Linked DNA regions of Homo sapiens: region 1 is linked to region 2. The links are contacts of gene promoters, found by promoter capture Hi-C in blood cells and fetal thymus (Javierre and others, 2016). All regions are on one chromosome and are shown on one strand. The core of a region is centred on a gene start or on the middle of the fragment in contact, and the rest is flanking DNA. Distances in the headings are between cores, read along the strand shown. Region 1 holds the start of PAFAH2 (platelet activating factor acetylhydrolase 2). Region 2 holds the start of MAN1C1 (mannosidase alpha class 1C member 1).

Evidence for each region. Contacts are between HindIII fragments. The CHiCAGO score rates a contact against its expected background, and 5 or more counts as called.
Region 1: the fragment with the promoter of PAFAH2 here is called in contact with the fragment with the promoter of MAN1C1 in region 2 in 6 of 17 cell types (megakaryocytes, naive B cells, endothelial precursors and 3 more); the score reaches 6.8 in megakaryocytes.

Annotation. Positions count from the first base shown.
Region 1 is chr1:25,995,919-25,999,441 of GRCh38, forward strand. PAFAH2 (platelet activating factor acetylhydrolase 2) reads right to left here and starts at 2,145. Exons shown (of 11, transcript NM_000437.4): 1 at 2,107-2,145. RefSeq lists enhancers at 1,891-1,970, 2,141-2,230, 2,241-2,290. The HindIII fragment of the contact is 3,571 bases long and covers 115-3,523 here.
Region 2 is chr1:25,614,956-25,618,260 of GRCh38, forward strand. It overlaps MAN1C1 (mannosidase alpha class 1C member 1), which reads left to right and starts at 1,836. Exons shown (of 12, transcript NM_020379.4): 1 at 1,836-3,305. The coding sequence starts at 2,843. RefSeq lists an enhancer at 1,102-1,271 and silencers at 1,462-1,751, 1,772-2,061. The HindIII fragment of the contact is 10,837 bases long and covers 1-3,305 here.

The DNA.
Region 1 (3,523 bases), core at 895-3,394, 380 kb after region 2:
TTGATCTAAAAATAAGGCTATATGAAATAATGGGGGACAAAGGTTTTGATGACTCTGAATTCTACCCCTGTCACTTATTAGCTGTGTGATCTTGAACAAGTTCCTCAAACTCTAAGCTTCTGATAATTTATTCTCACAACAGAAATAATAACTATGGCCAGACGCAGTGGCTCATGCCTATAATCCCAGAACTTTGGGAGATCAAATGGGAAGGATTGCTTCAGCCCAGGAGTTCAAGACCAGCCTGGGCAACATGGCAAAATCCTGTCTCTATAAAAAAATTAAAAAAAAAAAAAATTAGCTGGATGTGGTGGTATGCAACTGCAGTCCCAGTTACTCAGGAGGCTGAGGTAGGAGGATTGCTGGGGCTTGGGAGCCGGAGGCCACAGTGAACCAAGATTGTGCCACTGCACTTCGGCCTGGGTGACAGAGCGAGGTCTTGTCTCAAAAAGAAATAGTAACTATGGGCCGGGCGCGGTGGGAGGCCGAGGCGGGCGGATCAGGAGGTCAGGAGATCGAGACCATCCTGGCTAACACGGTGAAACCCTGTCTGTACTAAAAAAAATACAAAATATTAGCTGGGCCTGGTGGCGGGCGCCTGTAGTCCCAGCTACTTGGGAGGCTGAAGCAGGAGAATGGCGTGAACCCGGGAGGCGGAGCTTGCAGTGAGCCGAGATCGCGCTACTGCACTCTAGCCTGGGCGACAGAGCGAGACTCCATCTCAAAAAAAAAGAAATAGTAACTACTCACGAGATTGTTGATGAGGATTAAATAATGCATGTAAAGCACTCGATGGATAGAAGGTACTATAACCATAGGAGGCAACTATAATTATTTTAACTACATGCCTCTCAAGTTCCTTATACGTAAAATGGATACTTCGTAAGTGAAAATATTGCCTAGGGCCTGGTGCATTTTCAGTGCTTATAAAATGTTAGGAACTAATTAACAATGCTATGTCTCTCTTTCCTAGCCAAGGTCTCTCATTTTTCCTGGATTAAGCCCTTTGGCAAAACAGATTCTTTCCCAGCAGCCTTTTCAGGCCTCAGACACCCCTACCAAAGCCAGTGTCTACTGAACAGGCCCAGAGGAGCCCAGAGGGAATGGATGGGGCTTAGGTTGCAGCTGTCCTCTCCTGCTGGGACCCTGTTTCTGGTGAGCAGAGGACTGCTGCTCTGCCAGCTGTGTGACACTTTCATCACTGGCTATTTCAAGATACAGTCCAAGATAAGCACTTCTCTTGTGCTTCCTTTCAGACAAAGCTCTCTGAAGACTAAAAGCTCATTGGCCTGACCTTTGGTCTCTGGAGGAAGTGAGGAAATATCATCCAGCTCGTAGACAATGAAGACACCAAGCACTCGAGGGATGAGATTGAGCAACAAGGTGGCAGAGCTAGAGAAGAGGCCTGATAAGAGTGTTCCAGAGCATTAATAATTGTGATAAAAATAATCTCTGTCTCTTGTGAAGGTCTTACAGTTTACAAGGCATCTTCACACATACTAGCTTGTTGGCTCCTCAACACTCCTCACCTGAGACTGATGGAGCAACAGTCATCTCCGTTTTAGAGAGGAAGAAACTGAGTCCCAGAGTTGTATGATTTGCCCAAGGTCACAGAGGGTGAGAGGCAGAGCTGGCCTAGAACCGGGTCTGCTGACTTCGAGTCCAGGGTAATCGCGGATCGGAAAGAAGGAATGGGGACCCTTCTTCCACCGCCATGAAAAACAGAAAACTGAGAGTAAGAGTAAAGTACACAAAGGGTGGAGGAGCATAAAGAAGCCCGGGGTTCAGGGATGTGAGGCTGCAGGGTGAAGGTAGGGCCGAGGAATCAGGGTAGGGCTGTGGGGTCCAAGGTGGGGCTGCGGGGGCTGGGTCCTGGGACGGGAGCTCAGTGGGGATTCCAGGGGCACTGGCCGTTAAAAGTGCGAGGCGACCGTGGGAGGGTCAAGGGAGCGGGTGGCTACAGGTGTCTGAATAGGAAACGTAAAGGACGAAGATTAATGTGCAATTCCTATGACTGAGAGACGCCGAGGCCCCAAACCGGGCCAGAATACAAAAGTCTGCAGGAAGCTCAATTGAGATATAGGTGTTTTCTCCAATCAAACTTACCCAGTCAAGCTGATTCCTCAGAAGCAGCCCCAGACGTTTAACTCGACGGAAATGAGAAACGACCCATGAACCCGTGGCCCTTTGGTCGTCGTAGTTTCCAAGGCTCAAAATGGACGCTTGGAAGCACTTCTCGTTCCTCAATCTAGAACTACAATTCCCGATGTACAGTGCGCGAGATTGCGCATTACAACTCTAAAACTACACCTCCCAGAGTTCTACGCGACCGTCCAGCCCCGCGTGGTCGTGCGAAACCGCCCAAGGCCTGGGATGCGGTGTGATTCCTCCCCCTGGTGGCCTGAAGAGGTGCCGCCGCGATTTCTGCTCTCGAGCGGAGGGTTTTGCCTTAGTCCCGTGCGTAACCCTCCGCCTCACCCTCCTCAAATAGTCCTCAGGCGTGCCTAGAAATGGTCCCCGCTTCGCTTTATTCTCAAGGAGGTGGGAGGAGGTTGGAGTTTGTTTTGTGTCTTCTGCACACTTTGCTTCCTGTAAGAATAATAGACTGATCATTCAAATTAAGGGGACATTCCCTACCAGCCTGCATCTGTTGACACCTGTGATTTTCCATTGTCCTCAAAAGACTCCCTGGCAGAGAAAGGGGAGGAACCCGAGTAATCTGCTGGGCCGCATCCATCCCACATTACTGTCTAATGCTGGTTCTTAGCGACACTGATGGACAAGATACCGCTCCTAGCCTCAACAGAATCACAGTCTAGCAGAGAATTCAGACAAATGAATAATGACAGCACAGAGCCGTGATCTCATGGGGAGACACAGCAAGCGTGGGAGCCTTGAAAAGGGGCCTCTGGCCAGGCTTGGGGGAAAAGGGCGGTGTCCGCAAGGCTTTTTAGAGGGAGTGATGTTTGTTAACATTGAGACCCGATATAAGGAAAGAACGTAGCCAGGAGTACAGAGACTGTGAAGGACGTTTCAGAGTATGGCATTAAGTTCAGTGCTGGCTGCAGCTAAGTGTGAGGGATGGAAGGAGAGTATTCTCGGGGGAGTGGGCGTTAGGCAGAGCCCATCCTCAGGAGTTCTGTAAACTTCTATAGGAAATTTGGATCGTTCAGGCAGCTCAAAAACGTTCAACGGCCCTCTACTACCTATGAAGTGAAGTCCCAACTGCTTAGCCTGACATTCAAGGTCTTCTCCAACCTGCACTCCCCCACGCCCCACCCCCCACCCTTCAGCGCCCCTCCTCTGGGAGCTTTGTTCATGCCTCCAAAGTTTCCGCCGACATCTGTGTGTGCCTCGCACATGTGAGTCGACTCACACTGCCTTGGGTATCTCCTGTATTAGAGGTCTTAACTCTTGACACATTGTGAGCTCTTTGAGGTCAGGTACTGAGTCCTGCAGTCGCCCCCTCCACCCTACTCTTGCAGCCCACATCCCCCCGAAACACCAGGGTCCAGAGTCCCTG
Region 2 (3,305 bases), core at 586-3,085:
ATGATGACTCTAATGAATGCTGGGTCCCTGCCTGGTTCTCCAAAGACAAGGTTGCCCTTTCCTGCAGTGGGACCCAGTGAGGCGATGCTTGGGTGTTGGAGACATGGGTGAGGCCAGGCCAGGTCTCTGGGCTCCTGCACCCAAATGGGTCACATGCTTATCTCTGATTTGCACAGCTGGCTCCACATCAACCTGCCAACGAAACTCACAAGAGATTGAAATATCTGAATTAGAATTTTATATTTAAGCTGCATATATTTGTGGGATTGGGAAGGATTAGTCATCTCCAGTGACCAAAATGTTTGCACCTGTTACCCACTTTCATTTTCAGTTGAGAGAAAGTTGCATGCCAGGGATATTTAAACATCGAGGGTGGGTCTGCTGTCAGTGGTCTGGCCAGAGGTAGAAGGATGACTGAGTCCCAGCCGCCCATCCCCAGCAGGCCTCAGGGAAGAAGCAAGATTTACGAGGCGAGAGCCTGCCTGGCCCGCTTCTTCTGTCGGGAAAGGCTTCCCTGCAGTATTTTCTGTCTCGTCAACACTGCATTTCATTTTAAATTGCAGCTGAAAGTAGATATTTTCCCTCTTGCCTATTACAAACCTCTTAATTTGTCTCTCCCTCTGCTGTTATTTGTCTCTATAAAGTGTTTTGCATGAAAGACCCACACAGCACAATGTTGCTTCACCCTGGGTTAGGTTTAACAGGAAGGGAAGATGCAGAGACTAAGTCCAAGGAGGAAGATGTGAGGGCCTTGGGGTTGAGGACACGCGTGTCTGGGAGTTGATGCCTGGCTGTTTTTGGAGGTTATCTGTTGCCTGAGTGTCTGTGGGTATGCGGGTGCACATGTCCATGTTTGTACTAATTTACATATATGTCTATGCATACTGTGGTATAATCACTTGGGTGTCCATACCCAAATTAAGTGTATGTTTGAGTGCATGTACACACCCACATGCCAGTCTCTGTGTGCATATAGATCTATGCCCAGACGCACACATGTGCATATAAACACACGTAGGCATCAAGGTAGACGTCCGTCACATTATGTGTGTGGTCTTCTGTAGACACGCCCGGGGCTCTCTTCCTTTCGCTGCTTCTCAAGGCTGCGGTCAGCCTCCCTCCGTGCTCCACCCAGGAGCCCTGGCCCCGTTTAGGGTTGTGGGAAAAGGAAGGCACGCCAGTGGTCTGCGAGGGGGCCAGTGGAAACATCACCTCCGCCGACCCGGCCGCGGTCACAGCTCTCTGGCTTGGCTCCAGCCACCAGCAGCACCCCTGCAGCCCGGCGTTAGCGCTGAGAAGCCCGGGGCAGCCGCCAGGGCGCGGGCTGCCAGCTCCCTGACAACCCCGGGCTGGCACTCGGGGGCGAGAGAGGTCACCCAGCGACGGGCACACCCCTCCAGAGCAACACCGTCTCCGGCCCGCTTCCGGGGGCCACCAACCCGAGCCTCGCGGGCGGGCTGGGGGGTGGTCTCTGTCGCTTGGGGTCCAGCGAAGGCTGGGCAGTAACCAATGGACGACTGTGGCCCAACGGGGATCCCTCGGATGCAGCCAATGCCCTCGTTGCGCTCTCCGCCCCCGCCCTCGCCTGCCCCGCGCCGCTGGACCATTGGCGCCCGCTGGATGGGGGGTGCGCGCGACGCCTGCCCTTCGGGGAGGGCGGGGCTTGGAGCGGGCTGCGCTCCCGCCCGCGCTCGGCCTCTGCCCCGCCCCCGGACGCGCGGCCCTCAGCCGGCTGCGGCGCGGCGGCGGCGGGAGGGGGCGCGGGGCGCGCGCGTGGGCGTGGCCGGCGGGCGTGGCCGGCGGGCGGCAGGAGGCGGGGCGGCGGGCGCTGTCGCAGTGAAAGCCCGAGCGGCGGCGGCGGCGGGGACGGCGGTGGAGGCGGCCGGGTGGCTGTGCGCGCGTGTGGGGCGCAGGCTCGGCGGCAGCGGCCGGTCTGGAGCGGCCGCTGCGAGGAAGACAGCTGCAGCGGGGGAGGCGCGGCCAGGGCTGCGCGCTCCGCGGAGCCGGCGGGGCCGGGAACAGGTGATCCCAGTGGGAGCCCCGCGCCCTGCCGAGTTCGAGGGGCGGGAGCCCGCGCTCCCGGGCGCATCTGCAGCCGCCCAGCCGCGGCTCCGGACCCAGGCATCCCTGCGCTGTCTGGGGCCCGGGGGAAGCCCCCTGCCCCCGCAGGCTCGGAAGTGCCTGCTCCTGCTCCCTGGCCACTCCGGCTCCCAGCTCCCGGCGCCCTCTCCGCGGCGGAGAAAGTTGTGGACGTGTCCCGATAGTCGAGCCCGGGCGCTGTCGCGACCGGGCCGGGTGTGCGCGCGCTCGGGGCGGCGCTGACACGCCAGCCCCCCATCGCCTCGGTCCCCTCCGGAAACTGCTTCTGAAGCTGAAACTTTGGGCGCCTACCAGCGCGGGCGGGAGCCTAGGGGGCGGAGGGCGGCTTGGTGCGGGCCTGCGGGCGCCCCTCGGCGCGGACAGCCGGGACGCCGCGGACGGCATGTGACGGTCCCGGCGGCCGCAGCGCGGGAAGGCGCGGGCCCCGGCGCGGCGGGGAGGGCTCGGCCGGAGGGGAGGCTGCGGCGCGCGGCCGGTCGCTGCGGGCCCGGGCCCCAAGCCGTGCCGCTCCGCTCGCCCGGGCCCCGCCGAGGCCGCTGCGCCCCCGCCTCCTCGCGGGAGGACTCGCTCCAAACTCCCTGAACTTCGGGGACAGTCCCCCGAAGCGGCGAAACTCTCAGGGTTGGCAACCCTGCCCAGGGACCCCCATCCCGGGCGGCGCTCCGGACGCCCTCCCCTCACCGCGCCCCCGCAGACACGTGCCTGGACTCCGAGGGCTTCTGGAGCCACCGGCCGGGCCACGATGCTCATGAGGAAAGTGCCCGGCTTCGTCCCGGCCTCCCCGTGGGGGCTGCGGCTGCCGCAGAAGTTCCTCTTCCTCCTCTTCCTCTCGGGCCTGGTCACCCTGTGCTTCGGGGCCCTCTTCCTGCTGCCCCACTCCTCTCGCCTCAAGCGCCTCTTCCTGGCCCCCCGGACCCAGCAGCCTGGTCTGGAAGTGGTGGCTGAAATCGCCGGCCATGCCCCGGCCCGCGAGCAGGAGCCGCCTCCCAACCCGGCCCCCGCCGCGCCGGCCCCGGGCGAGGATGACCCCAGCAGCTGGGCCAGTCCCCGCCGCAGGAAAGGGGGGCTGCGGCGCACCCGCCCCACTGGACCCCGCGAGGAGGCCACGGCGGCCCGGGGCAATAGCATCCCGGCCTCCAGGCCCGGGGACGAGGGCGTCCCTTTCCGCTTTGACTTCAACGCATTCCGGAGCCGTCTCCGCCACC